Linked DNA regions of Homo sapiens: regions 1, 2, 3, 4, 5 and 6 are each linked to region 7. The links are contacts of gene promoters, found by promoter capture Hi-C in blood cells and fetal thymus (Javierre and others, 2016). All regions are on one chromosome and are shown on one strand. Each heading gives the region's core, a stretch centred on a gene start or on the middle of the fragment in contact. The rest is flanking DNA. Distances are from core to core; before and after follow the strand shown. Region 1 overlaps PLEK (pleckstrin). Region 2 has its middle 37 kb from the start of FBXO48. Region 3 has its middle 47 kb from the start of PLEK. Region 4 overlaps CNRIP1 (cannabinoid receptor interacting protein 1). Region 5 overlaps LOC105374789 (a long non-coding RNA gene). Region 6 overlaps LOC102724389 (a long non-coding RNA gene). Region 7 holds the start of GKN2 (gastrokine 2).

Region 1 (3,900 bases), core at 1,138-3,637, 560 kb after region 7:
TCTCAGATCTTTGCATTGAAAGGGGATAGAAAAAGGTAGAGGAGAATGGGAGAAAAAAAAGTGGGCCAGTAAAGAGAAAAAGGGGATATCAACAGAGTAGAGAGGGGAATAGGAAGCCCAGATTATAAATGCAGTGGATTTATTTATTTGAATGGATTTATGAACCACAGGACCTTACCCCAGCAGGGTCATAGTAGTGCAGGTAGGCAGGGTCTTCTCTCAAGATGAACTTCCTCACTTTCCAGTTTTTCCTTCTATGCCCCTGTATCCAGGATCAACATTAAAAGAAGGGATGGTGAATTCCCAGCATCACTCTGTACAAACAATACCTACAGAATAATTATTTGCTGAATTGAGAAAAGAAAGAGAAAATGAAATACTAACTCCAGGATAACAATATCCCGGCCTAGGTCTTTGTCAGGGAGATAGTGCTACAGCCAATAAATAATATGGATGTTATTAGATCGAAGAGGTGGATTAAATTATTTCTAATTATTGTCTTCCAGTTTTAGTATGATATAAGGCAGTACTAGGTACAATGTGCTGTGTTAGGTAATGTAGGGGGAATAAAGAGGTTTAAGATGCCCTGATCTTTAAAGAGTTTATGACCTATGTTGAAATATAAAGTAGCAAATGCCCAAATCAAATAATTGGTATAGATAATGGATTCCAAAGGCATTAAGTAGGGAATATGTAATTGTGGGCTTTGGATATCAAAGAAAGCCTCATAAAGACCTGCACTTATCCATGTGGGACACAGGATTTAGATGGGCAAGACAAAGGTGGGTAGGAGGACAACTGACAACACAAGAGCAGAAGTGGGAATGCAAGAGACATACTCAGGTGTTGATGAATAAGACCAGTCTGGCTAGAATGTAGGGTTCATGAAGAGTAGCAGAGGCAAGGTGGGAAAAGTGGACAGAGATTTAGTGGAAATAAAAGGCAGGGTTTGTTGTTGATGGCTTTTGAGTAGGAAGTGAAAGAATTACAATTACATTTTAAGAAGATTAATATGGTGACAAAGTGCAGGATGGACCAGCTGGCTAGATTAAAGGAAAGCCCAGGAAAAGATGGTAAGTAAAAAAGAATTCATTAGGGAAGGATCACAATAATCCAGGCATAAAATCATTAGGAACTAAACCTTAGGTAGCTGCAGTAGGAATGGAAATGCCTGTTGCTGTAACAGACATGATGAAGGAAGAAGAAGAGGCGGAAGAGGAGGAGGAGGAGAAAGAAGAAGAAGAAGAAGGAGGAGGAGGAGAAAAGGGGGAGGAAGGTAGGAGGAAGGAAAGAGGAAGGAAGAAAGAAAGAAGAAGAAGAAAGAAGGTGACGACTTGGCCTTTCCCAACAGAATTAAACACTGACATTGTCTAGACTGAGTTTTAAGGGCAGGATTTGTGTCTTGCTTATCTTTGTTTCCCAGGGCCACAGTGCCTGGCATATAGCAGCTGCTTCATATCTGTTTGTACTTGCTGTGAGTTACCAAGTTATTTCCATTAGTGTGTAGCAGATTTTAAACTGTCATGGTAAACCTGACTCTATGATTTCCCACAGGAAATTCAAATGACTTAACTCCAGAAGCCAAAAATAGTATTATATTAAAAGATACGGAGTTTCTATCTTGCCAATACAAGAAATATTATTTGTAATTTCTAAAGCACCACATATTGGCAAGCATGTATACAAATTTTCCAACATTTTTCATTTTACTTGTGCTGAAAGCAATAAAACATGTGTGGTCTTAGCAAACAGTGCCTCCTTCATAAATCCAGAGGTGCTTCAAGGAAGCTTTCAGAAATGGGCCTAAGTTTTTTGGCAAAACATTTGGTGAAGGAACTCACTTCCAAAGAACTTTCTACTTCCTGAAGGATGGAGCTGGAACCCCTGCAGAGTCATATGCAAGGACAGAAAATATTCCTACCTGCTATATCATGTCCAAAATGGCTTTTGCAAAGCATAGACTTCCAAAAGTATACATTGCTGCTCTTTGCCTTAACTAATGTTGCCCTTCAGAATAACGACACTAAAGTTGCCACCCCATACCATTTCCTCTTCACTGACAGACACACATGTCATGCTGTATTATGCAATTGCTGGACAATCACCAACTTATTATGAGCCAATGGAAGAGGAAGGTAACAGGAGGATGTGAAATCAGCCAACCACCATATTCCCTTTAAGCCCTCACTGACATCACAATGTGACGTGTTGAAGAGTTGGAAGTTAGCAGGTACATTTCTGGTCATCTTTCACTTAATGAGCATTTTCTAAGGAGTATTAAGAAATGCATGTATGCCTCAGGTTTCCAAGAATTGTTACTGAACTGTCAAAGCCATCTACTTATATTTGACTTAATTAGCTCCCCAAGTGTTCATTGCCTATGATAAATCAAGAAGGATGCTGAACTCTGCAGCAGATACAAGAGAAGCATATATAACACATTGTTCCTCTCCCTCAAGGAATCTAAATGTGGTTGAGAATTAAACAAGCAGATGCTTTATTCATTGTCATAACAGAAACAATTATGTAAAAAGGGATTATACTGAATATAATCTAAGATCATTCATCCTCAAACTTGCTGCCAAGTAGGATTATTTATCCTGGGATGAGAAAATAATGGGGCAGGGATAATGGCCTCCAGTTAGCCACAGCTACTTCCCATCTGTGAGGCTTCCCATTATAACAAGCCTTCTATGAAGTTAATCCTGGCTAACTCCCAGCAGTAAACACAAGGGAGGCTTACTTTTGGAATTTTAAGAAAAAGTTTTTAAAATTCTGAAAATCCCTTGGGTGATTTTGATGTAAACTATGGTTACTAACCACTGAGCTAAGAGATTAGAAACATTAAGGGGAAGTGTCAATTCAAATCGAAGAGGTTTTTGCTCCCCAACCTCTGAAAAAAAATTCAGAGGAAAGAATATTGTAAAAGAACAAAATTCCTGAATGCACGTAGATTTCTGTTTTCTTCACATAAAAAGGAAGCTTCTAAGAAAGACTATTTAACTTGTATACTGATAATAGAATAAATTAGCTTTTAAGAAAAAGGCTGGCTCAGTGGTTCTCAGCTTTGGCTGCACATCAGAATCACTTGGGAGCTGTAAAAATCCAGAGGCTCTGATTAAATTGGCCTGGCATGCAGTTTTAACAGTTCCCTGGGAGATCCAAATGTGCACCAACCGAGCTAGCTAAGGCTAAATTGTACCTATCAAAGGCCAGACAAAGGAAGGCAAAGGAAAACACATAAGTTCAATCCTTGTCCCTATTGTCTTCAAAATACATCCAGACACTCATTACCCACACACAATTTTTGACCATCCCAGGTCTCCTACTGGGCTGCTTCACTGAGACGTGGCTCCAGTCCAGTCCCAACTTTATCTACTGTTAGCCTTCATCCTTGGCTTTCCAAGAGCCCCATTCTAGATTAGGGTTTGCCCAATCAACTAATTCAAGAAATAACTGATAACAATATAGAATTATGGAAGAAATCAACAAAATAAAGAAATTTCCTCCCAAGTTACTCTTCTTGTCTTAACAGCCACATTCCAGCACCTGCAATCAAAGAGCCAGGAACATAGGAATATTTGGCAAAACCAACGAGAAAGCAGCAGCGGGCAAACTGTCCGTAGGCAACTGCCCGAGCCTTCCCGGCATAAGGCTGGCTCTGCCCCATGCCTTTCTTTTAATCTAGCCAGCTGGTCACCCTGTCATAAAAAAATACTATAATAGTCCATGAATTCTTTATAAATTCTTGCCATATATTTCTTAGGACACTGTTCTCTTAAAACCTGATATGAAGGTAATTTTTCCATTCGAATGTCCCACTTCCCCCTGTGAAACTCAAAATCCATACCTATACCTCCTTTCAGCTATCCCAGCCCAGAGTCCCTCTTTATAAATGTA
Region 2 (3,897 bases), core at 1,061-3,560, 520 kb after region 7:
TGCGGCCCTTTGGGGATCCCAGGCCTGGGTGTTCCCTGAGCCAGGGCTGTGACTCCCTCTTTGGAGCCCTGCAGCTTCTGGAGTCTGCAAGCTTCCAGGCCCCAGAGCATTTGCCAGTGCCAGCTATGGAAGCTGCTTGTGGTGCACCTAGTCCAGATGCAGCCTTGCAGGGAGCCAGCACCCACACCAGCACCTGGAGTTGCTTGCCCCACAGCAGCAGCTGGCATGCCCAGCTATGTGCGGTGGCTAGACCCCACGCTCACTCACATACCCTTCATTACTCCACGCCTGGCTTGCCCTTGGCAGGCATGGGATCCAGGCCAGTAGCATGAGCTGAGTGCAGCCTGCTGGGCCAACTGGGTGGAACAAGCCCAGCAGGCCAGAACAAAACTTGGGCAAAGGCACCACTGGCCACAGAGGTTTCCAGCAGGCGAAGCGACACCACAAGGATCCCGTAACACAATGAGCATTTGTAGCCATCATCCCAGTGTGTGGATTGAGTAGAAAGAGAAATAGCGTGCCCTCACTAGTGCTTCCATACACATAGAGACCACAGACTTTGGAACAGCATCCCTGGCATCTTTGTTTTGGAATGACATTGAAACACTGAACCAAGTCAAATAAGGGGACATTTGCAACTTTGCTGACTCATTTGTCAAGAATAAAAAAATACACAGGCAAATTTGAATGAAGGCCAGGCACAGTGGCTCACACCTGTAATCTCAAGACTTTGGGAGGACGAAATGGGAGAATCACTTGAGCCCAGGAGTTCAAGACCAGCCTGGACAATATATCGAGAGGCCTGTAATTCCAGATATTTGGGAGGCTGAGATGAGAGAATTGTTTGAACCCAGAAGGTTGAGGCTGCAGTGAGACTTGATCACGCCACTGAATTCCAGACTGGGTAACATTGTAAGACCCTGTCTCAAAAAATATATTAAAAAAGCAAATGGAGAGAATGTGAGGAGAATCATCTGTGAAGGAAACTGGAAGGTCTTTTCCAATTTCTAACCATACAGTGGGCCCTGAGAAAACACCTTTATAGAGAGAGAATGATTAGAACATTCTCTCTAATAATAATGATAGTCACATGAATGTCTGTAAATGTATAGGCAACAGGATAGTATCAATAAGTTGAATATGCCTTTAACAAGCTGAATGTACCTTATTCTTTAGCCTTCTTGAAAATAAAAGCCTAACCTAGTCATCTACCTGCATGGGGAGAATAGGGTGGAATTAGAAGTGCAGATAGGTTGTAATTAGAGGCTTTTAGTGGCTGACAATCACTGAGCATCTGTTGAAAGATAAGTGAATAGTAAAATTAGAAAATTACAGCCTCCATCAAGGAATGCAGCCCTCCCAACATCTCGAGACCCATTTCAGACTTATAACCTCCAGAGCTGTGAGATAATAAATTTGTGTTGTTTTAAGCTTCTAAATTTGTGGTTACTTGTTACAACAATAGGAAACTCATACAATAATTTTTATAGAAAGAATATACAATTAAATGCAAAAAGTACACTCATCTTAAGTGTACAGCTTGAAGAGTTGTCTTCCACATATTAATTGAGTGTAGCTAATTCATAGACCAAGTCATAGCACATCCCAGCAGCAGCCTATGATTCCCTCCTGCAACTGCCCAATTTGTACACTGCACCCCTAAAAGGAAAGAAAAATTCATACATTCAAAATACTTCTCACACCAAATGTGTGGAGTTTACCTCACATTAAGCAATTCTCCAACTCTCCAGATACCAAGTGGGTGTACTACAATTTACTCATGACACTAACTACCCAGAGTTAGTGCAGACCCCATAGGTTGAGGACTCAGCCTCGCAAGGCTGAAACCAAATTTAGACACCAGTCAGTAGTCCCAAACTGTGACCTGTCCATCTGGCTAACTAGCTATCCATTGGGGGTTGCCATGACCTTCTCTTTAGGTTTGATAATTTGCTAGAATGGCTCACAGGACTCAAGAAAGTGCTTTACTTACAATTAGCAGTTTATTTTAAAGGATACCACTTAAGATCAGCCAGATGAAGAGATACACAGGACAAAGTATGAGGGTGGAGCTGAGAGGTTCCGTCCTGCTCCACATGCTGCACCCTCCCAGCAGGTCTGTGTTTCCACCAACCTGAAGTCCTCCAAGTCCTGTCAGTTAGGGGGTTTATGGAGTTTCTATTCGGTAGGCATGATTGACTAATTAGTGGTCCCCAACCTTTTTGGCACCAGGGACCAGTTTCATGGAAGACAATTTTTCCACAGATGGGGGGTGTGGTTTCAGGACGATTCAAGCACATTACATTTATCATTCAATTCTCATAAGGATGACGCAACCTAGATCCCTTGCATACTCGGTTCACAATAGGATTCACACTCCTACGAGAATCTAATGCTGCTGCTGATCTGACAGGAGGCGGAGCTCAGGCGGGAATCCTTGCTCACCCACTGCTCGCCTCCTGCTTTGCAGTCCAGTTCCTAACAGGCCATAGACTGGTACTGGTCCACAGCCTGGGGGTTGGGGAACCCTGGACTAAATCATGGGCCATTGGTGACTGAGCTCAATCTCCAGCCCTTCTCCCCTCTCCAGAGGTTGGGGGAGGGAGGGAGTGCTGAAAGTTCCAACCCTGTAATCAACCATGTGATTCCTCTGATAACCACCAGCCTCCAAGAGTCACTTCATGAAAACAAACTCACATATGATGAAATAATATACAATAATTAATATAGATAACAAAAGACATTCCTCTTGCCTTTATCATCCAGGATTTTACAAGTGTTTAGGAGCTATGTGCCAGGAAATGGGGATGAAGACCTAATATATGTTTCTTATATTCTTAATGTATCACAATACCACAGCCTCCAAAAGTAATCTCTATTCTGACTTTTATAAATGTTGATTAATATTGCCTGAATTTAAACTTCACATAATTAAAATCATATAATTAATTCCTGCAAGATAGTGATTTAAAATAAGTCAGAAGTACTTTTTATTCCTGGCAATCTTTCTTACTCCCTTAGCCCCTTCAGAGAATAGTGAAGAACTCAGCTGCAAAAAAATTGATGTCAACTTTAGAGATAATAGTTATGAAAGCCAATGTTTTTCTTATCAAGTGCCAGGTTTTATTGCGAGAAGAAAGGAATTTTGAGTTTAGTTGAGCCAGAGCTAGAGGAGTATACCAAGCTTGTCTGACCCATGGCCTGTGGGCTGTATATGACCCAGGATTGCTTTGAATGTGACCCAACACAAATTCATAAGCTTTCTTAGAACACTGAGAGTTTTTTGTGATTTTTTTTTAGCTCATCAGCTATTGTTAGTGTTCTTGTATTTTATGTGTGGTCCAGGACAATTCTTGATCTTCCATTATGGCCCAGGGAAGCCAAAAGATTGGATATCCCTGGAATTTAGCATAGAATTCGTTTTAAAAGTTAACTAGACTTCCTGTCTCTGAACTTACAGTTTTTTCCTTAAAGGCCCCTGAACAACTGCACAGGCCATTCATCACTGTGTATGAGTCCATACACATATTATCACCAGGTGTCCCACTCAAATTCTGTCTGTAGGAAAGACTGCCCTTTGCTTTCAAGGCCAACCCTGGTGTCAGATTTGCATTGCAGTCCGAAGGATTTTCCTGCCCAAATTCTGCTTCCTTCCTTTTTTATCTCTCATGGGATTACTCCTTCCCCTTCTCATCAAACCTCCTCCACTTACTTCTGTCTCAGCTGCTTTCCAGAGAAACCAGCTGACCACTTCATACCTTTGGAGGAGTGATGTTTAGAAGAACGGAAGAAGAGCTATGTGCAAGTGCAGGGTGAGGCTGTATGCAGAGAATTACAGTAACTGCTTTATGTCATCGGGTAGGTGATGAGAACTAATACAAGAGGAAGAATTTAGAA
Region 3 (3,660 bases), core at 219-2,718, 540 kb after region 7:
TGGATTAGGCTTTAGCTTAAGGGAATATCATGACTGGTTTGATTTTCTTTTTTGAGACAGGGTCTCCCTCTGTCACCCAGGCTGGAGTGCAGTGGCACAAGCTTGGCTCACTGCAGCTTTGACCTCCCAGGCTGAAGAGATCCTCCCACCTCAGCCTTCCAAGCAGCTAGGACCACAGGCTAATGCCACCACAGCCGGCTAATTTTTTGTATTTTTTTTATTTGGGTTTCACCATGTTGCCCAGACTGGTCTCAAACTCCTGAGCTCAGGCGATCTGCCCACCTAGGCCTCCCAAAATGCTGGGATTACAGGTGCGAGCCACCATGCCAGGCCTGATTTTCTATCCAGGCCACTAAAACTTTCTCCATAGCAGCAATAAGGCTGCTTCACTTTCTTACCATTAATGTGCTCACTAAAGTTACACTTTTAATTTCCTCCAGATACTTCTCCTCTGAATTCACAACTTGGCTAACTGTCTGGCACACAAGTCCTAGCTTTCAGCCTGTCTCAGCTGTCAGCACGCCTTCCTCACTAAGAGTAATCATCTCTAGCTTTTGACTTTAAGTGACAGATGTGCGACTCTTCCTTTCACTTGAACACTTAGAGGCCATTGTAGAGTTATTAATTGGCCTAATTTCAATATTGTTGTGTTTCAGAGAATAGTGAGGCCTAAGGAAAGGGAGAGAGATGGGGAAACAGCCAATCAGTGGAGCAGTCAACAGATATTTACTAAGTTTGTGGACTTAGATGGGCATGGTTCATAGTGTCCCAAAACAATAACAATAGTAACCTCAAAGATTACTGATCACAGATCACCATAACAGATATAATAAGCATGAAAAAGTTTGAAATATTGCAGGAATTACCAAAATGTGCCACAGAGACACAAAGTGAGTGCATGCTGTTGGAAAAATGGTGCTGATAGACTTACTCCATGCAGGGTCGCCAGAAACCTATAATTTGTAAAAAAAAAAAAAAAAAAAAAAAAACAAACAAAAAAACAAAAAACAAACAAACAAAAAAGCAATATCTGAGGAGCACAATAAAGCAACATGCAGTAAAACAAGGTATTCCTGTATAAGGAGCCTCCTCATGATAACAGTAATTACTTCATTCCATCAGCTATTGATAATGTACCCACTATGCACAAGCACCATGTTAAGCATCAGAAAGGATTGAAAAAATTATGAAGCACGAATACTTTTCTGACCCCAAAAAACACCAACCCTAAAACATCCAACACGATATGTGACTATTTGTAAATGCCTGGTGCAAATAGATGGTAGAGATATTCTGTGGCAGACGGTCTATCATGGAAGTGGGGAAAAGTACAATGAATAACAGGGAGGGCTAAGCCTTCAAGAAAAAAGAAGAATAAGAGAAACAGAGAGCTGGAGCAGAGAATGTTCTAGGCCATGGGGTTATATAGGCAAGTCAAGGTTGCAAAAGCTGACAATCCTCCAAGGACCAACAAGAGGCCAGTATGTCTGTAGTGAAGGAGAGCAGAGGGGAAATCCTTCTGGAAAGGGAAGTCAGGGCCAGTTTGTGAAGGCCCTTAAATGCTAGGCTATTGCATCAGTGTCTGAACTGTAAGCAGTGGAGAGTCAAGCAATTTATCGGTAGTTTTTAACTTTAATTTTGGTAGAAATTACCGATCATTTTTTTAAAAAGCAGCAGTGCAAGTATATAGACCCTACCGCATGCTTAGGAAATCAGAATTCCTAAAGTTGGGCCTCAGGCATAAGTTCCATGAAAAAAATTCCACAGGCAATTCTGACATAGACCAAAAGTTGAAAGCCACTACTACAGAGTGTAGATTGCCATGAGTACCTTCTACAGCAGAGGGGTCAGAGGAAAGGAAACTAGAACTTGTGGAGTGCCACCCATTTCAGGTGACTTACAGGTATTATTTCATTTAGTCCTAACAACAAGCCTATGAGAAGAATACTATTTTCGTTTTAGAGACAAAGAAACTGATACTCAAGATATGTCACAAATGCAGTAAAACCAGGAATTCAAACTGAGGCTCCAGGCTCCAAGACCACTGCCTTTCCCACTCTACCACTTGACCTCCCATTAACAGCCTTGTGCATTTTCCCCTTGAAACTTACTGCAGCTCAAATTAAATAGCAAATGTGGTGTTAGAAAAACTCTCCTCCCATCCTCTTTTTTCTCCCTCAGTGACAGCTAAATTTTACCTTCCCTTTACCCTGAAACTGAGCCAAAACCACTGAGGGCTATAATTTCACACTAGGTTTATTTTTTTAAAGAAGCTAAATTAACTTCCTCATAACTTTCTTTCTCTTTCTTCTACGCTTTCCTCTATGACATCTCCCAATACACCTTGCAGTTCTGAAATTCCTTATTTAAAGCAGAACCCAAAATGGAATCCAAAATATTAAGTAATTACTTTAGTGATTTTCTTTTTACCCTAAGGCTGATGAGGATTGTCTATATCAGGTTTCACACAACATCCAAAAGAAATGATGATGACCCTCTGTTTAGCTTGCTACAAACAAACACGAAGAGACTAGGGTTTTCTTTGTCTGTTTGTTTTTTAGAGATGAGGTCTCACCATGTTCCACAGGCTGGAGTGCAGTAACTATTCATAGGCATGATGATTGCATACTACAGCCTTGAACTTCTGGTCTCAAGGGATCCTCCTATCTCAGTCTCTCAAGTAGCTGACAAGCATATACCACCTTGCCTGGCTCACTGTTGCTATTTTAACCCAAGGAAGTTCCTCATTCTGCTTTTGGAAACCGTTCTCTACGGGTAGAATTTTAGCCACTGTATGTGTGTATATTTCTGTGTGTATCTACAAGAGAAGCTTAATATCTCTCCTTAAATCAGTAATATATTTTCTTTTTTTTATTATTATACTTTAAGTTCTGGGATACATGTGCAGAACGTGCAGGTTTGTTACATAGGTATACAAGTGATACAAGTGCCACGGTGGTTTGCTGCACCCATCAGCCCGTCAACTACATTAGGTATTTCTCCTAATGCTGTCCCTCCCCTAGCCCCCAACCCCCCAACAGGCTCTGGTGTGTGATGTTCCCCTCCCTGTGTCCATGTGTTCTCATTGTTCAACTCCCACTTATGAGTGAGAACATGTGGTGTTTGGTTTTCTCTTTCTGTGTTTGCTGAGAATGATGGTTTCCAGCTTCATCCATGTCCCTGCAAAGGACATGAACTCATCCTTTTTTAAAGGTTGCATAGTATTCCATGATGCATATGTGCCACATTTTCTTTATCCAGTCTATCATTGATGGGGATTTGGGTTGGTTCCAAGTCTTTGCTATTGTGAATAGTGCTGCAATAAACATACATTAGCATGTGTCTTTATAGTAGAATTATTTATAATCCTTTGAGTATATGCACAGTAATAAGATTGCTGGGTCAAATGGTATTTCTAGTTCTAGATCCTTGAGGAATTGCCACACTGTCTTCCACAATGGTTGAACTAATTTATACTCCCACCAACAGTGTAAAAGCATTCCTATTTCTCCACATCCTCTCCAGCATCTGCTGTTTCCTGACTTTTTAATGATTGCCACTCTAACTGGTGTGAGATGGTATCTCATTGTGGTTTTGATTTGTGTTTCTCTAATGACCAGTGATAATGAGCTTTTTTTCATATGTTTGTTGGCCACGTAA
Region 4 (3,537 bases), core at 528-3,027, 640 kb after region 7:
ATTTCTGGTTTTCGGTATTATAAACAAAACCACATTACAAATCACTGAGTACTGTACAATTGTCTAATGTTTTCTTGATTTCTAGAAGAAATGTGCACGTTAAGGCATTTTATAAGACTGCCTCACTGACCTCCAGAAAAGCTAGGCAATTTACACGCCTATCATCTGTATTTAAGTATCCATTTCTCTCTGCACTAGGTATAGTTTGTCATGTTTACATATTTTTAATCTGACTGAAATACTTCAATTTTTACTTACTGTTAATTTGAAATCCTGACATATTCATTTACTATTTGTATTTGCTTCATGGATTATATGTTCATAGTTTTCACCCATTTTTCTGCTTAAGTGTATCTTATTGATTTTTTGAAAAATCTTTATAAATTTAAAATCGTCATTTTTATCACATCTTGAGTGTTCATTTAATATTTTAATTTTTATTTTGTTTACAATATAAAATATAAATTTTGTAGTCAAACATGTTAGCCTTTTCCTTTATTATTTTGCAGTTAAGATCCAGCTTAGAAAGTCTTCCTTGACTCCCAGATTAATTAATTATATATAGACATATACACAGTGGCATTTGTGTATTTTCATCTGAACTCTTATGGTCTCATTTGTTAAATTTTAGATGAATTACAGATTTAGATATTATTTCAGTTCTTACTTTTATATTGGAAAGTATTTGCCCACAGTGTCCTAATACAATTATTTAAATAATCTATGCTTCTCCAAAGGTCAGTTTCATAGAAATTTCTTATATTGCAAAAATTTTATCTCCTCCTATACTCCCTAATCTATTCCATTGATCTATCTATTGTTACACCAATACTGCATTGTTTTAGATACACTGTTTTTATAATATGTATTCATATACTTTGTAACTGACCACCTTACTGAACTTGCTTACTAAAATTTTTCAGCAAATCATCTTGGGTTTTTCATATAGATGGTCAGAATCTGAATATAACTGTCTTTTTTTTTCCTGGTCATATTGCATTGTCTAATGTTTCTAGAATAATGTTGACTGCTGCTAGCAGTCAACTACAGCTAGTAGCAGTAGTTGGAGATAATTTATCTTATTTGATATATTTGATGAATTACATAAAGTAATACACTTCCAAATACTAAACCTTATTTTTTACAATAAGCCCTACTTAAACATGTATTATTAATATATTGCTAAATTCTATATGCTCTTTTATTTAGAATTTTTAGATTTTTAAAATTTGCTTGCTTTATCAGCAAATATTTGAGGATTTCCTGTATATCAGGGACTCAGGGGGAAGAGTGGTGAACAAAATAGATAACCCGGGTTTCATAGAATTTCTGATCTTGAGGGTGGAAACATACTTTATACATGATTATCAATGATAAGGTAAATAATTGCTAATATGAAAAGTATAGCAAAAAAGTAGTGCTGTTAGAGTATATACCAAGGGTCTTATCCTAGTCCAAGATTTGCGGGATGGTTTTCTTGAGGAAAAAATGAAGGATGAATAAGAGTTGAGGAAAGAAAGAGCATTTGAGGAAAGAGTAGTTGTAAAAGTCAAGAGCTGGAGACAGCGTATGTATTCTAATGGATGAGAAGCCCAACATGGTGGGCATAGAGTGAGGCAAAGACAGTATAAGATAAAGCCAGAGAGGTAAGTAGGGGTTGGATGATATAGAACCTTTTTGCCACTGGATTTATCCTAATGACTATAGGAAATCATTGAAGTTTTTGAAATCAGCTTTGAGATATGATTAACATAAAATGCACCAACTTTACAGTTACATAGGTTTTGACAAGTAGATGCTACTATATAATCACCACCCCAATAAAGATAACAGAACACTTCTATTACCCTGAAAATTATTTGCAGTTAATTCCTCCCAACCTAACCTATCCTGAGCTTGCCATCTCAATATGTTAGTTTTAACTATGTAAGAATTTCATGTAAATGGAACAGTGCTGTTTGACTTCTTTCACTTAGTATAATGTTGAGATTCACCTATGTTGCACATATCAGTAGTTGGTTCATTTTATTTCTGGGTAGCATATTATGTTGTGTGGATATACCATAATTTCTCCCTTTACCAATAAATGGACATCTGGGTTGTTTTCAGCTTTTGCTATTATGAATAAAGCTGCTGTGAACATTTGAGTATAAGTCTCAGTGTGAACATATTTTCATTTCTCTTGAGTAAATACCTAAGAGGACAATTGCTAAATCACATGGTAAGTATGTGTTTATCTGTGTAAGAAATATCCACACTGTTGTACCATTTTGTATATCCACCAGCAGTGTATGAGAATTCTAGTTGCTTTACATACTCAATGTATGTCTTTTTAATTTGGAAATTCCAAAGACATAGAAGACCCAAAACAATCTTGTTTGATCTATATTGTAGTCCTTAAAACAGGTAGCATAAATCTTCTAGCTTTGTTTATTCTAAGTTCTTTTGCTTAATCTAGGTCCTTTGTGTTTTATATAGATTTTAGAATGAGCTTGTCAATTCCTCCAAAAATTGGGATATAGAGTTTCCATTAAACCTATAGGTCAACTTAAAGATATTTGACATCTTAATATAGAGTTTTCTATACCATGAACATGAAATATCTCTTAGGTCATCTTTAATTTTCTCCACAATATATTACAGTATTTCCTCTACAGACTTTATACATATTTTGTTAAATTTATTATTTCATATTTTTGAATAATGTAAATGGAATCTTTGCTGGTATATGGAAATAAAATCGATTTTTTTTGTATATTGATATTGAATCCTGAGACTTAGCTAATCTCACTAATCCTAATAGCTGTTTTTGGAGGATCCCTAGGATTTTCTAAATATGCTATCATGTCATCTGTAAATAGTTTCTCTTTTCTTTCCAATCTGTATTCATTTTATTTATGGCCTAATTGCAATGGCTAGGACCTTCGCAGTATGCTGCTAAATAGAAATGGTGAGAGTGGACATTCTTGTCCCTCAGTCTGAGAGAGAAAGCATTCTGTTTTTCAATACAAAGTATAGTAGCTGTAAGGTTCTTTATTGTAAATCTTTTTATCAGGTTAAAGGAGTTCTCTTCTATTCCTGGTTTACTGAATGTTTTTTTAATCATGAACGTATTATAACATGTTTTCAAATAGTTTTTCTGTATCTTTTGAAATGATCATAAGGTGTTTTATTCTGTTTATGGTAGATTACCTTGCTTTTTCAAAGTTAAAATAACCTTGAATTCCCAGGTTAAATACCACTGGTCATGGTTTATTCTCGGTATGTAAAACTGGATTTGATTCATTAATATTTTGTTAAGGATTTTTGACATCTATGTTCCGGGGGGGATATTTGTCTATGGTTTGCTTTTCTTATAATGCCTTTGTCTAGTTTTGGGTATCAGAGTAATGCTGGCTACATAAAATGATTCGGAAAGTGTTCATTCTTCTATTTTCTGGAAGAGTTTATATAGAAATGATATTTTTCTTAATGTCAGAATTCACCAATGAAGGCATAGATTATACTTTATTTGAAGATTTTTTATTACAAATTCAA
Region 5 (3,754 bases), core at 561-3,060, 840 kb after region 7:
TGTGTGTATTTGTGTAGACTAATTTCCCTAGATGATCTGAGCCAAAAATGAAAATTTAAAGTTTGTTCTACTAGTCCTGTGAACTGAGGTCACCAATTGGGAAAGAAAGGATGAGGAGTCAATGTACAAGCCCACCTACCTGGTTGCACTGACCCATGCAGAAAGAACAGCCACTGTGGTAGTGAGCAAGGGCTCTGCGGTGACAGTCTACAGCACATGATGGGGACCACAGCAAGTACTCAATGGGACTGGTGTATTGTTTATATGATTGAAAGGGGTGCTGTGTTATTTAGAAATAGTATTTACCTGCATGTAGCAAAGACCTGGAAAATAATGGGTTAATTCTCCCATATAATGAAAGTCAAGCTGTAGGTAGTCTAAAGTTGCATAGTGTCTCTCCATGATTCAGGCTCCATTCTTTTTTCTCCACTACCCCTATCCTCAAGATGATTTCATGGTTCATGATGACTGCAAGGACCTTGCCATCAAACCACTGAGAAGGTTTGAAGAAGGAATAAAGATAGAAGGGTGGAAAGTGGCACATCTTCCAGTAAGTGGCACTGCAGCACACCCCACACGACACTTTCATTCATAGTTCAGCGGACAGAAGTTAGTCATGTGACTACACTTAGCTCAGAGTGAGACTGTGAAATGTTGCCTTTGGCTAGGCATACCACCGCTCTGAAATAAAATAGGGATTCTTTCAGTATAGAATTTGGGAAAATTAATATTAAGTTGGCATTAGTAGTCTCTGTCACAAACACATTACATTAGCATGGCTTTTGGTGGAGACAAATTGGCAACATCCATCAAAATGTTAAATATTCATACCCCTTGAACCAATAAGTATAAATTTACTCAGAAATATGTGCACATATACAAGTATATATATGCTTATTATAGCACAGCAGTATTAATAATATCAAAATATTGGAAGCAACCTAAAGGTCTATCAATGGTAAAATTGTTTAATAAATTGTGGTATGTACCACAGAATACTATTCGGCTATGAAGGAAGAATGAGGTGACTATAAGTACTGAAAGGCAAAATGACATATTATTAATTAAAAAAGCAAGTTGCAGAGTAATAGTGTATTTCCCTTAGTAGAATTGTATTATACACATCCCTGGGGATGGGTCCGAATCTTTGCAGGCAGAGGAATGAACTCGTGTAATTTGAAAGAGGTCCCAGAAACTCTAAAAGAAAATAATAGTAATGAGTGCAAACCGAATCCCCAGTACAAATACATGAGTGAATTGTTACCACATAGAAAGTGGTAACAATATTATTTTCAGAAGAGCTCTGCTTGTACCAAGCTTGCATCAAAGTATTGGATGGGTCAATCTGACATAAAGCCTTCGTAGCACATCTAATGGTGAAACTGGCATGGGAAGGGCGTCAGTGCCGCTTCTGGGTGAATGGTGAACAGGACTCTGAAGTAATATTCCACTACAATGGCAATATAATCAGATTATAACTTTTTTTAAATACGTTGAGCTCTTACAAGAAACAAAGGGAACTTTCCAATGTCAACAAAACAAAATAAAACAACATGCAAACATGCATAGTAAGCTAAAGCTAGCATTGAGTGGTAAGCAAACTGCAAAACTTGGAGGAGAAATGCCAGTGTCAGTCACAAATGAGGGATTGAAAGCTAAGCTCTGAGGCTGCTGCCAGGCCCTGTGTCCTAATTAAGGAGGCTAAAGCTGTCCCTTGTTGTTAGCATACGTAATTCCAGAAATATATAAATTCAAATCCCTTTTGAGGAAGGTGTCATTAATTCAGGATTTCAGGATTCCTATAGACTATGTGAAACCAAATGGATAATTATGATGAAAAAATCCCCAAATATACAAAGAAACAAAAGACATAATGATGATATGAGTTAGGACTAAGTTTAGCCTCACACAGCAGAACAAACAAATAATGGTGGCTTAGACACACACAGTTTTATTTGTTTTCATCTAAAAGACGTCATGAGATAGGTGTCCAGGACAGATTCATCAGAAATTCATCAGGGACCTGTTTCTTTACAGTTTATGAATCATCTCAGATCTACGTTATGCTCCTTGTTCTTGTGACCCAAGATGGCAGCTAGAGCTCCAGATGCTCACATTCCAGGCCAATTGTGGAAGGAAAGGGATGAAGGGCAGGCCTATTTAAAAAAAAACAAAACCAAAACATTCTGAAGTTTGCACACAGTACTGCCACTTAAAATTTATTGTCAAAAATTTAACCACAATGATCACATCTTGATGTGAACAAAAACTAGGGAGTTTTAACTGGCCAACAATAAGCTTGACTAAAAATTAGTATTTTCCTTACTAGCAAGGGAGTTGGGGAATGGATGCTTGTTGTCAACTGAGTCTCTGACACAGTAAGTGTGTAATGAGCTAGAAAATGGCACCCCTGAATATCTCAGTCCTAAGCCCTGGATCCGTGTGTTATGAGAAAAATTTGAGACTGTAACATCCCCTATCCCTCCCAAGTTGGGAAGGTGCCGAAAGACCAAAGAATGATTTAGGGAAGTTGTGTTTGGCAAGTAGATGAGTTTATTGAGACATACAGGGCAGGGCACTCCTGAGTGGCAGCAGCACAGCTCAAGAGATCTGTGCCACCTCCCTTCTCTAAGCTGCTGTTAAGCTAATTTTCGGGCTCTTTGCCTACTGTGTTTGTGTGATGGTACTGTTTTCTTTGGTAGGTTCTCACATACTCCCTGGGATGTTTAGGCTCTCAGGGACACCTGCTCCTCAGCTGGGTACCATGGCCGTGACTTACTATCTGGCCTTCAGGGTTCAGGCAGCGGGCATATACTTTTAAGTAACCTGGTAGGGCAGCCTGTCACACTGCACTGTTAGTTAGTATCACCTTACATGGCAAAAAGGACTTTGCAGGTGTGATTAAGTTAAGGATCTTGAATGAAGAGATTATTCTGTATTATCCAAATGGGTCCTAGATGTAATCACAAGTGTTCTTATAAGAGGGAGGCAGAGGAAAGTGTGACTACAGAAGTAGAGGATGTTGGCTAAGCAGGGTGGCTCATGCATGTAGTCCCAGCACTTTGGGAGGCTGAGGTGGGAGGATCGCATGAGCTCAGGAGTTCAAGACCAGCCTAGGCAACATAGCAAGACCTCATCTCATTTTACAAAAATAAATAAATAAATAAATAAATAAATAAATAAATAAATAAAGTAGAAGATGCAACAGGTTGGAGTATGGAATGATGCAAGGAAGGGGTCATTGGCCATGGAATGATGGAAGCCCCTAGAAGCTAGAAAAGGCAAGGGAACATCATTCCTACAGCCTCCAGAAGAATCAGCCTTGACTTTAGCTTAGCGCTTTTGGACTTCTGACCCCAAACTGTATGAGAAAGAGTTTGTGTTGTCTTAAGTCACCAATTTGGTCGTAATTTGTTATAGAACTCACTAGGAAATGAATACATATTGAATGTCAGCTGAAACTAAAAACAGATATAGACCCACACCCCACAGATTCTAGACATTGTAATTATTAGACACGTAGCATTTTAAAGAAAATTCAAAGATAAAAAAAATTTACTTAGAAAATGTGCATGGAAGAGACTATAAAGTGACCTGGAAAATCAGAAATGGCATTCATTTTCTCATTTGAAATAAAATGAAGAAATGAAAAATTATAACATCTCTCTCTCTCTCTCTCTATATATATATGTATACATAGCATTGAGTGGTAAGTAGATATATATATATAAGTATATATATATAAATTATATAT
Region 6 (4,082 bases), core at 1,578-4,077, 610 kb after region 7:
AGGCAGGTGGATCACGTGAGGTCAGGAATTCAAGACCAGCCTGGCCAACATGGTGAAACCCCATCACTACTAAAAACACAAAAATTAGCTGGACATGGTGGCTCGTGCCTGTAATCCCAACTACTCGGGAGGCTGAGGCAGGAGAACCACTTGAACCCGGGAGGTGGAGGTTGCAGTGAGCCGAGATTGCACCACTGCACTCCAGCCTGGTGACAGAGCAAGTCTCCATCTCAAAAAAAAAAAAAGAAAAAAGAAAAAGGCCCTGCTTCTGATCCGTGTTAAGACAATAGGAGCCATATATAAAACTCTCTAATCATCTGTCTTTCAAAACTGTAATTGGAAAAATAAGAAGAAATAAACACACAGGCACACAAATGTCAGATGAATATCCTTTAAAAAATCCTCCACATAAATCATTTTTCATCGCAATGATTGGGATAAAACTTGAAAGACTCTACTCTCAGGGATCATTTTGATAGTTCGTTACTAGGATAAAACTTGAGCATCAATAGTTTTGAGGTTATAGTTTTTGACAAAGCCCTACAGTGTGCATATTCTATGTGGCCAATAAAGAGTAGATATGTATGCTTTGAAATGTAATCAAATTATTATTCAATAAATAGTGGTGTTGTAACAGATAATCAAATGGGAAAAAAGGTAAATTTATATCAAAATAATTCCAGATAGATAAAAAATGTAAACATTAAAAATGATACCAGGAAAGTTCTATCCAAAAACCATGGGATAAAATTATTTTTATAATTTCATAATGGAGATGCCATGAGAGATTAATAAACCAAGTTACATAAAAGTAAAAAAAGTACGTATGAGAAAAAATCACAAGCAAAATAAAAAGACAAATGTCAAATTGGAAAAAAGTTATTACAGATCATGGACAAAAGGTTAATTTCTCTAATGTACTAGGAATTCATACAGAGAAATATGATAAAGACAACAGAAAATGAATAAAGGACATGAAATGGCAGTTTACAAGAAAGAGAGTTCAAATGATTCTTAAGCTTGTGAAAAATGTGTGATGCAATTTATAATAAAAGGAATGCACAACGGAATGATGAGATGCTATTCTTCACATATCAAATGGTTCAAATGCAAAACTTAGATTGTACCTTGTGTTGATGAAGGTAGGGGAGAGTAGTCACATTGCTGGTAGAAATGCAAAATGGAGCAACTCTGCAACAGGAAATTTGGCAATATTTACCAAATTATAAAAGCACATATACTTTGACTCAGCAAATCTGCTTTTGAACAATTGTCTTAGGGATGTACTTAGCTGTGTGCAAATGATAAATACACAAGGACTCCCCTCACTAAGGTATAAAGCAGCACCTTCCATCATCCTCTATCTCTTTCTATTTTATTGACCATATGATAATATTTATCATTACTGTCTTGATGATATACCTGGGTTTGTGTGTATCCCCATCAAAAGTATGCCAGTGACTAAAGGGGTAAACCGCAGGCCTGCTTGGAGAGATGACCCCGGGATTGCCTTCTGAAAGCACAATTCCCTTGCATAAATGTCAAATATTACATACCATGAGTTGGTTATCTGTCTTGTTTACTGGAAGAGCAGCAAAGTGGCACTTAAATCTTGGCTCTATGTAACTGAAATCATATCAAAAGGCAAGTGGAGTATTAGGGAAGTACATTTTCTGTTTCAAAATAAGTTACACATACCTTGACCTGGTTCATGGTAACTGCATTCCCAGAAAGTAGTTTTGGGACTACTGATGCAATCAAAGACGTTTGCATGCTGTTTCCCATCTACAGAGTAAACTTAGTGTTAGACTCAATCCCATTGTGTCTTACTGGTTGAATGCCCAGTATGATACCTGGAATTACTGCTGGTGATGGACAATACATCATTAGGTAGGCTGCAACCCCAGCATCTAGAACAGGACCTGGCACATATGAGGAACTCTCTAAATAATCTTTAAACGAAGAATGAATGAATGAATGAATACATTGTTATGTGAAAAAAGGCAAGGTCCTTGCCTCTGCCCTCCCTTCCTCACTGATATTCCGCCCTGCAAATCCTAGCCAGGACCCCCCTAACCCTGATTGCTTCTTCCTTAATTTGGTGAGTCGGCCAGGCTCTGTTTCAGTTCTCCTTCCTGCCCGGTGGCCCTGAGTTGGCTCCTGACAGTGAGCTGCAACCATCACAGGGCTCACCTTATTGGTTTCCCTCCTCCCAGGTTTCACAGTCCTATGTTGCCTGTTGTCCACTGTCTGAAAACACTTGTTATATATACTTTTTCAATTTTCTAGTTGTTTGTTACAGGAGGGAAGTTCTTGCAGCCTTTAAACCTTCACTAGAAGAAGCGCAAGAAAATAATTTTTTTCTTTAAAACTCCTCCAAGAGTGATAAAGACCATCTCCAAGGTCAATTTAAATAGTACTGTGGTCGTGTTAAAAACATACACGCACACACACACACACACACAAACCCAACTCTCATCTTTTAGAGGTTCTATTGAAATATTTATGAACTAAGGAATAACAATTTTTGAGATTTGCTCAAAAATATAGGCAAGAGTGAAATTGCATGGGAATGTGCGTTGGTCATGAATTGGTAATTCTTATAGTTGGGTGATGAGTTCAGTCTACTTTTTCATGTTTGCAATTTTCCATAATAAAAAGTTTTCTTAAATCAATTTATAGGAATCTCTATGTTTATTGCCCACTAAGTGACTTCTACTGTGTCTACTTGGTAAGAATGAATGATCTGAGAGCAGGTGTTTGATACTAGAAAGGGGCGGAACATGAGGGCACGCGGTGTAAAAAAAGAAACTGAAGGGAGGGAAACTGAAAAGCTAATGGTAATCTTTAACTGCTATAATTTATCAGTCAGTTGACTATGCCCCAGATAAACCCAGAGATCCAGAATCCAGCAGCATGCCAAGCTGACAATAGGTTCTCCACTACTACCGTGTAGCTGAGAGGTGGCAGAAAATCTACCCAACACCGTGTTGTTACTGCCACCCTGGCTGCCTGGTCCTTATTTTTAGAGAGTGAGATTTTTACAAATTGCAAAAGCCAATCTGTCCTGTCACAGACTCCTAAAATGAACCTGGATCGCCATGGTAACAGCAGAGGCAGGCAGGCAGTAGGGGAGGAACACATAGTTTGTCACGGCTACAAAAAAGCAGGCAAAAAGCAAGTCAGATTCATCCCTTAGGATTCACTCCAGAATGCTCTTCGGTAAATGCCCTTGAGAATGCAAATTCTGTCTCTTCTCAACCCCCATGTCCTCCTCTATAGAGCCATATTTATAGAGCACCTAATCTGTGCATCCCAGGAAGGTAACATCTCCATTTTGCAGAAGGGTAAATTGAGACATAAAGAGGCTAAGAACCTCTGTAAAGTCTAATAAATGTCAAAGCTGGGATTGAAACCCAGGTCCATCTAGTACCAAGGCTCATGTTCTCTCATCTCTGATTCTGTAGTAGTTAGCATTTGCAAGTGCTCATTCAGAAATTATTCATGGAAATTCTTATGTCACCACTAATAAAATAAGCATAATGCACAGTATAATAAAGGCAAAGGTAAACATAAAAAATAGAGTGTAACCATTTAGAGGTCCAGAGTGTTTTAAGAACTCATATTTAATTCTCTCTCAAATTTCCACCAAATAAGAACTTAATATTAGAATATAGTTATAGGGAAGATCTCTTTTCACTATGGGAACATGAGAAGAGACATATAAACAGGGGATGGGCCCAAAAAACAATATTCTAGGACATTAGTCTATCTGTCAATCTAGACATCATAAGGATAAATAAAAATCATACTGTTCAGCTCAAGTTTTCTCACATAACTCCTCAAATAAGCAGTACAATGTCAGTCACATTTTTTTTTCCGTGCCTGTAATAAATCCTTTAATTTAAAATGTTTGGATGTGGTAGAGAAATGCATATTTATCATCTCATACTGGTTTCTAAGGAAGGTGTTTTTGTTTGTTGTTATTATTTGAGGATTTTGTTTGCTTAGGCATTTTTTGTTTTGTTGAACATAAAATTGTTATCTTCAGTATAGTTGCCTTGAGTATCAGAGAAACAAAA
Region 7 (3,631 bases), core at 44-2,543:
TGTTTAAAGCTGCTAAAGTTAGAAAGTTGTTTCAGCTATAGAACAAGGCCATTATTTATGTTATCTCTTTGTTTACTGTGGTGATTCTCAATATTTTACAATTTTGCAATTTACTGGGGTTTTTTGTTTTGTTTTGTTTTGAGATGGAATCTTGCTCTATCACCCAGGCTGGAGTGCAGTGGCATGATCTTGGCTCACTGCAACCTCTGCCTCCCGGGTTCAAGCAATTCTCCTGCCTCAGCCTCCTGAGTAGCTGGGACTACAGGCGAGCACCATCACGCCTGGCTAATTTTTTTGTACTTTTAGTAGAGACGGGGTTTCACCATAGTAGAGACGGGGTTTCACCATGTTGTCCAGGCTGGTCTCAAACTTCTGACCTCAGGTGATCTGCCCGCCTTGGCCTCCCAAATTGCCGGGGTTACAGGCATGAGCCACTGCGCCCAGCCGCAGTTTATTGTTTTTGTTGTTGTTGTTGTTTGTTTTGTTTTTAAATTTCCCTTCCTGAGTTCATGATTATACCCTGACACTAACTAGCCATTTCTAATTGTCATGTTAAAAAAATTACACAAATTAAACTTTATTCTCTTTCTCTCTCTTTTTTTTTTTTTTCAATCTAAGAATTTCTTAATACTCTGCAAGATAACTAGAGGTCTCTAACTTACAGTTTTGTGCAGTTTTGGGCGAAGCTTAATGTAAAAATTTGGTTAAACTTGGTAATTGGGGAGAATGCTTTCTGAGTCTTGTTCCTCATTAATTTCTGGAAATTGACACCAAATCTAAAGGGAAGAACGAAGAAAGTCCTAGGCTGTTTGTTCTCCAAGCAGGCCTCCCCAGCCACTGTCTTGGCACCCCGTCTCATATCCGTTCCCTCTGTGGAAGAATTCAGCCAGCAGAACAGTGGTGAAAAGACATTGAGTTGGGGCCCAACTCAGGCCTTAAGGAAGCACTCTTCCTTTAGGAGGAGATGTTAGAAGTTTGTCCTTGTAGAGCTATAAAATGTATGCATAGAACAAGCATCATGCAATATTTTTAAAGGGTGGAAATTAAAATGTCAAGTGCAGCATAGTACAAATAGCAGGGAATATTTACAGAGTGACCAAGTGGTGAATTTTCATTACTGACTAATGAACTTCATTGATATCAGGTATGTGGTTGGATCTCAATTCTGATAAAGGAGTTTGCTAGGGTGTGTCAGAGATATAGACATGGTCTTTTCCAAAGTGATCATTTGAAAAAGAGATATCCACATCTTCAAGCCCATATAAAGGATAGAAGCTGCACAGGGCAGCTTTACTTACTCCAGCACCTTCCTCTCCCAGGCAAAATGAAAATACTTGTGAGTATTTGTTTCTGCTTCTTGATACTCTTGTGGTGACTGCTTGCAGACAATGCTCATATCTAATATGCCATGGATTTTGGGAGTCTTAGACAGATACTGTGCATGCTTCTAAGCTTCTGTGATTGAATTAATGACATCTTTGGCAGAAATAGTGTTGAATAAGTCTGACTTTTTTTGTCCTTTTCCTGTTTTGAGATGTTTACTTAAAAGAAAATTCAAAAATACAAAGAAATCTCTAGATAATTTTGATTTGGAGGATGTTTAATAATAATCCTTTATTATGAGCTTCATAGGGAATTTGGGCTATTTAAAACAACTACATTTGCTATCTAAGAGAGAAGCTGTAGTTTAAAAATAATATCAGTAATAGTAATAATAGTACCTCTCATTTCTCAAATGCATACTAAGCCTTAGACTAAGCATATCACATGAATAATTTCATCTATTCATTGCAACAACCCTATGAGTTGAGTAGTATTCTCCCCGTTTTACAGATAAGGAGACTGAGAGGCAGAGGAATGTGATTTTCCCAAGCCCGTAAATGTGGGATTTAGAATGTAATTTATCCATCTGAATCCCCACTTGCAGGCGCAATCATGGCAAATTTAAGCAGCCAGAGTGTCTTCAATGTCCTCTCATTATGACTAAATTCTCCCTTAGGACAAAACGTTCCTTCTATGGCCACTCCACCCCTCCATCTGATCCCAGCCTCCGTAGTTCCACATTGCAGTGCCCCATGGACAGTGGGCTATGTTCTGACCTAGAATGGAATTCGCTCCCCTAGTCTCTGTCCTTTATTCTCATTCAGCTGCTAAGGGAGAAAGCAAAATGTTAAGTACCTCTTTCTAAAGTGTTAAAGACTATCAGCTTAAAGAGCTCCCTCTCTCAGGGCTGTCTTGATTTTCCAAATTGAGACCTAACCCTGAAGCACAAAAGTATTATATAACCATGGTGTATTAACCACAGTGTTGGAAGGGAGATCATTTTGGGGCAGAGGACACTCCCCAAGCTCTCTCTAATCATACCATTAAAGTGGTTTAGTCCTTCGACTACTTGTTCAAACCACTATTTTAGACTCATTAACTAGAATATACGGGAGTATCATATGTTGCTGGAGCTGGTCTGTGGTAAGAGAAGATGTATCCCTATGGAAGGCTGAATATCAGCACACAGGTCTTTGTTAGATGCTCTACTCCCAGTCCCCAGAAGAGAAATATTAAGGGTGGGATGGAAAGGGAAGTAGGAAAGTCCCACTGACAGTTCTTAAAAATATCCCCCTTCCCCAAGACTCCTTTCATCAGCAGTTTTCAAATGACAGTGCAGTCAACTATGTACTGATGTAGTTTTCAGCGATAGTACAGTTCACTGATGTTCAGAAGAGAGGGTACAAAACCTGGGTTAGCATGTTGGAACAGACTCTTACAGAACTACAGCAAAATATCAGAACTGCTTCAATGTCAGCTCACGACCTGTGGGCCCAGCACTTGTGTGATAGTATCACTAAGGCATAGGAGAATATGGGGGTTTTACTTGATGTCAGCCTCAAAAGTTAATTGTGCTCCCAAGCATTCTATTTTCATAGTTTCCCTTAGGAACCTGTCAGGTCTTTATCACCCATGATTCATTTTAAATCTGTATTACCCTCTCAGTCTTAAGGGATTAAAGTTTTTTAAAATTAATTAATTAATTAATTATTTTTTTAGAGGACACAATTTGACCACTGTTATCCAAAGCTAGTGTGAATCATACCAGAGTATTTCCATAGTGAAATGAATCCTTCACTGCTCATCTGCCCCGGGTTTCTCCTACTATCTACATGGTTATAATGCTAGAAAGAGTTGGGAATTAGGTGGCAATTGTAGCACCCTGTGTCTGGCAAATAGAATGAACTCAACAAATGCCTGTTAAATGAGCCAATGTGTGAGCCAATCAATGTGTGCGTGGAAAGGGAGTGCTGACCATCTGTGGCCACTCAGTGTCTCTAGGTGTACATTTTCTGAGATATCTGTGCCTTTCCTGTCCAGTGTTTCCTCCTGTCCCACACTCAATGACTACCCTATAAAGAATGGATGTGGTGGGTCTGTTTTTCAGGTGGCATTTCTGGTGGTGCTGACCATCTTTGGGATACAATCTCATGGATACGAGGTGAGTTGGTTCCTTATGGACTTTATCTCTTAGAGATGTTGGGAGAGGAAAGGGAAGGTACAAGAGAGCCTGAAGACAGTAGAGAGGCCATATGCCTTATTTGGGATGGAATCTCAGAAATAACCAATAATGGAAATAATGAGCTTG

Evidence for each region. Contacts are between HindIII fragments. The CHiCAGO score rates a contact against its expected background, and 5 or more counts as called.
Region 1: a fragment that was not itself captured here is called in contact with the fragment with the promoter of GKN2 in region 7 in 4 of 17 cell types (activated CD4 T cells, naive CD4 T cells, total CD4 T cells and 1 more); the score reaches 6.4 in activated CD4 T cells.
Region 2: a fragment that was not itself captured here is called in contact with the fragment with the promoter of GKN2 in region 7 in 5 of 17 cell types (activated CD4 T cells, naive CD4 T cells, non-activated CD4 T cells and 2 more); the score reaches 13.7 in activated CD4 T cells.
Region 3: a contact is called between a fragment that was not itself captured here and the fragment with the promoter of GKN2 in region 7, in 4 of 17 cell types (activated CD4 T cells, non-activated CD4 T cells, total CD4 T cells and 1 more). The highest score is 7.7, in activated CD4 T cells.
Region 4: a contact is called between a fragment that was not itself captured here and the fragment with the promoter of GKN2 in region 7, in 1 of 17 cell types (activated CD4 T cells). The highest score is 5.4, in activated CD4 T cells.
Region 5: a contact is called between a fragment that was not itself captured here and the fragment with the promoter of GKN2 in region 7, in 3 of 17 cell types (activated CD4 T cells, total CD4 T cells and total B cells). The highest score is 6.3, in activated CD4 T cells.
Region 6: a contact is called between a fragment that was not itself captured here and the fragment with the promoter of GKN2 in region 7, in 3 of 17 cell types (activated CD4 T cells, naive CD4 T cells and total CD8 T cells). The highest score is 6.6, in activated CD4 T cells.

What each region holds. Positions count from the first base shown.
Region 1 is chr2:68,389,524-68,393,423 of GRCh38, reverse strand. It overlaps PLEK (pleckstrin), which reads right to left. Exons shown (of 9, transcript NM_002664.3): 7 at 179-262. Among named protein-coding and RNA genes, the nearest start is that of PLEK, 26 kb to the right of the region's middle. The HindIII fragment of the contact is 1,194 bases long and covers 1,791-2,984 here.
Region 2 is chr2:68,428,207-68,432,103 of GRCh38, reverse strand. No RefSeq gene overlaps it. Among named protein-coding and RNA genes, the nearest start is that of FBXO48, 37 kb to the left of the region's middle. The HindIII fragment of the contact is 1,753 bases long and covers 1,434-3,186 here.
Region 3 is chr2:68,410,543-68,414,202 of GRCh38, reverse strand. No RefSeq gene overlaps it. Among named protein-coding and RNA genes, the nearest start is that of PLEK, 47 kb to the right of the region's middle. The HindIII fragment of the contact is 2,729 bases long and covers 104-2,832 here.
Region 4 is chr2:68,311,986-68,315,522 of GRCh38, reverse strand. All of the region lies in intron 2 of CNRIP1 (cannabinoid receptor interacting protein 1), which reads left to right. Among named protein-coding and RNA genes, the nearest start is that of CNRIP1, 6.2 kb to the left of the region's middle. The HindIII fragment of the contact is 5,380 bases long and covers 1-3,537 here.
Region 5 is chr2:68,107,123-68,110,876 of GRCh38, reverse strand. It overlaps LOC105374789 (a long non-coding RNA gene), which reads left to right. Exons shown (of 3, transcript XR_940223.3): 1 at 1-550. Among named protein-coding and RNA genes, the nearest start is that of C1D, 46 kb to the right of the region's middle. The HindIII fragment of the contact is 981 bases long and covers 1,320-2,300 here.
Region 6 is chr2:68,339,833-68,343,914 of GRCh38, reverse strand. It overlaps LOC102724389 (a long non-coding RNA gene), which reads right to left. Exons shown (of 4, transcript XR_940224.4): 2 at 1,557-1,626; 3 at 1,128-1,191. Among named protein-coding and RNA genes, the nearest start is that of CNRIP1, 22 kb to the right of the region's middle. The HindIII fragment of the contact is 3,612 bases long and covers 1,022-4,082 here.
Region 7 is chr2:68,950,555-68,954,185 of GRCh38, reverse strand. GKN2 (gastrokine 2) reads left to right here and starts at 1,293. Exons shown (of 6, transcript NM_182536.3): 1 at 1,293-1,336; 2 at 3,431-3,484. The coding sequence starts at 1,325. The HindIII fragment of the contact is 766 bases long and covers 689-1,454 here.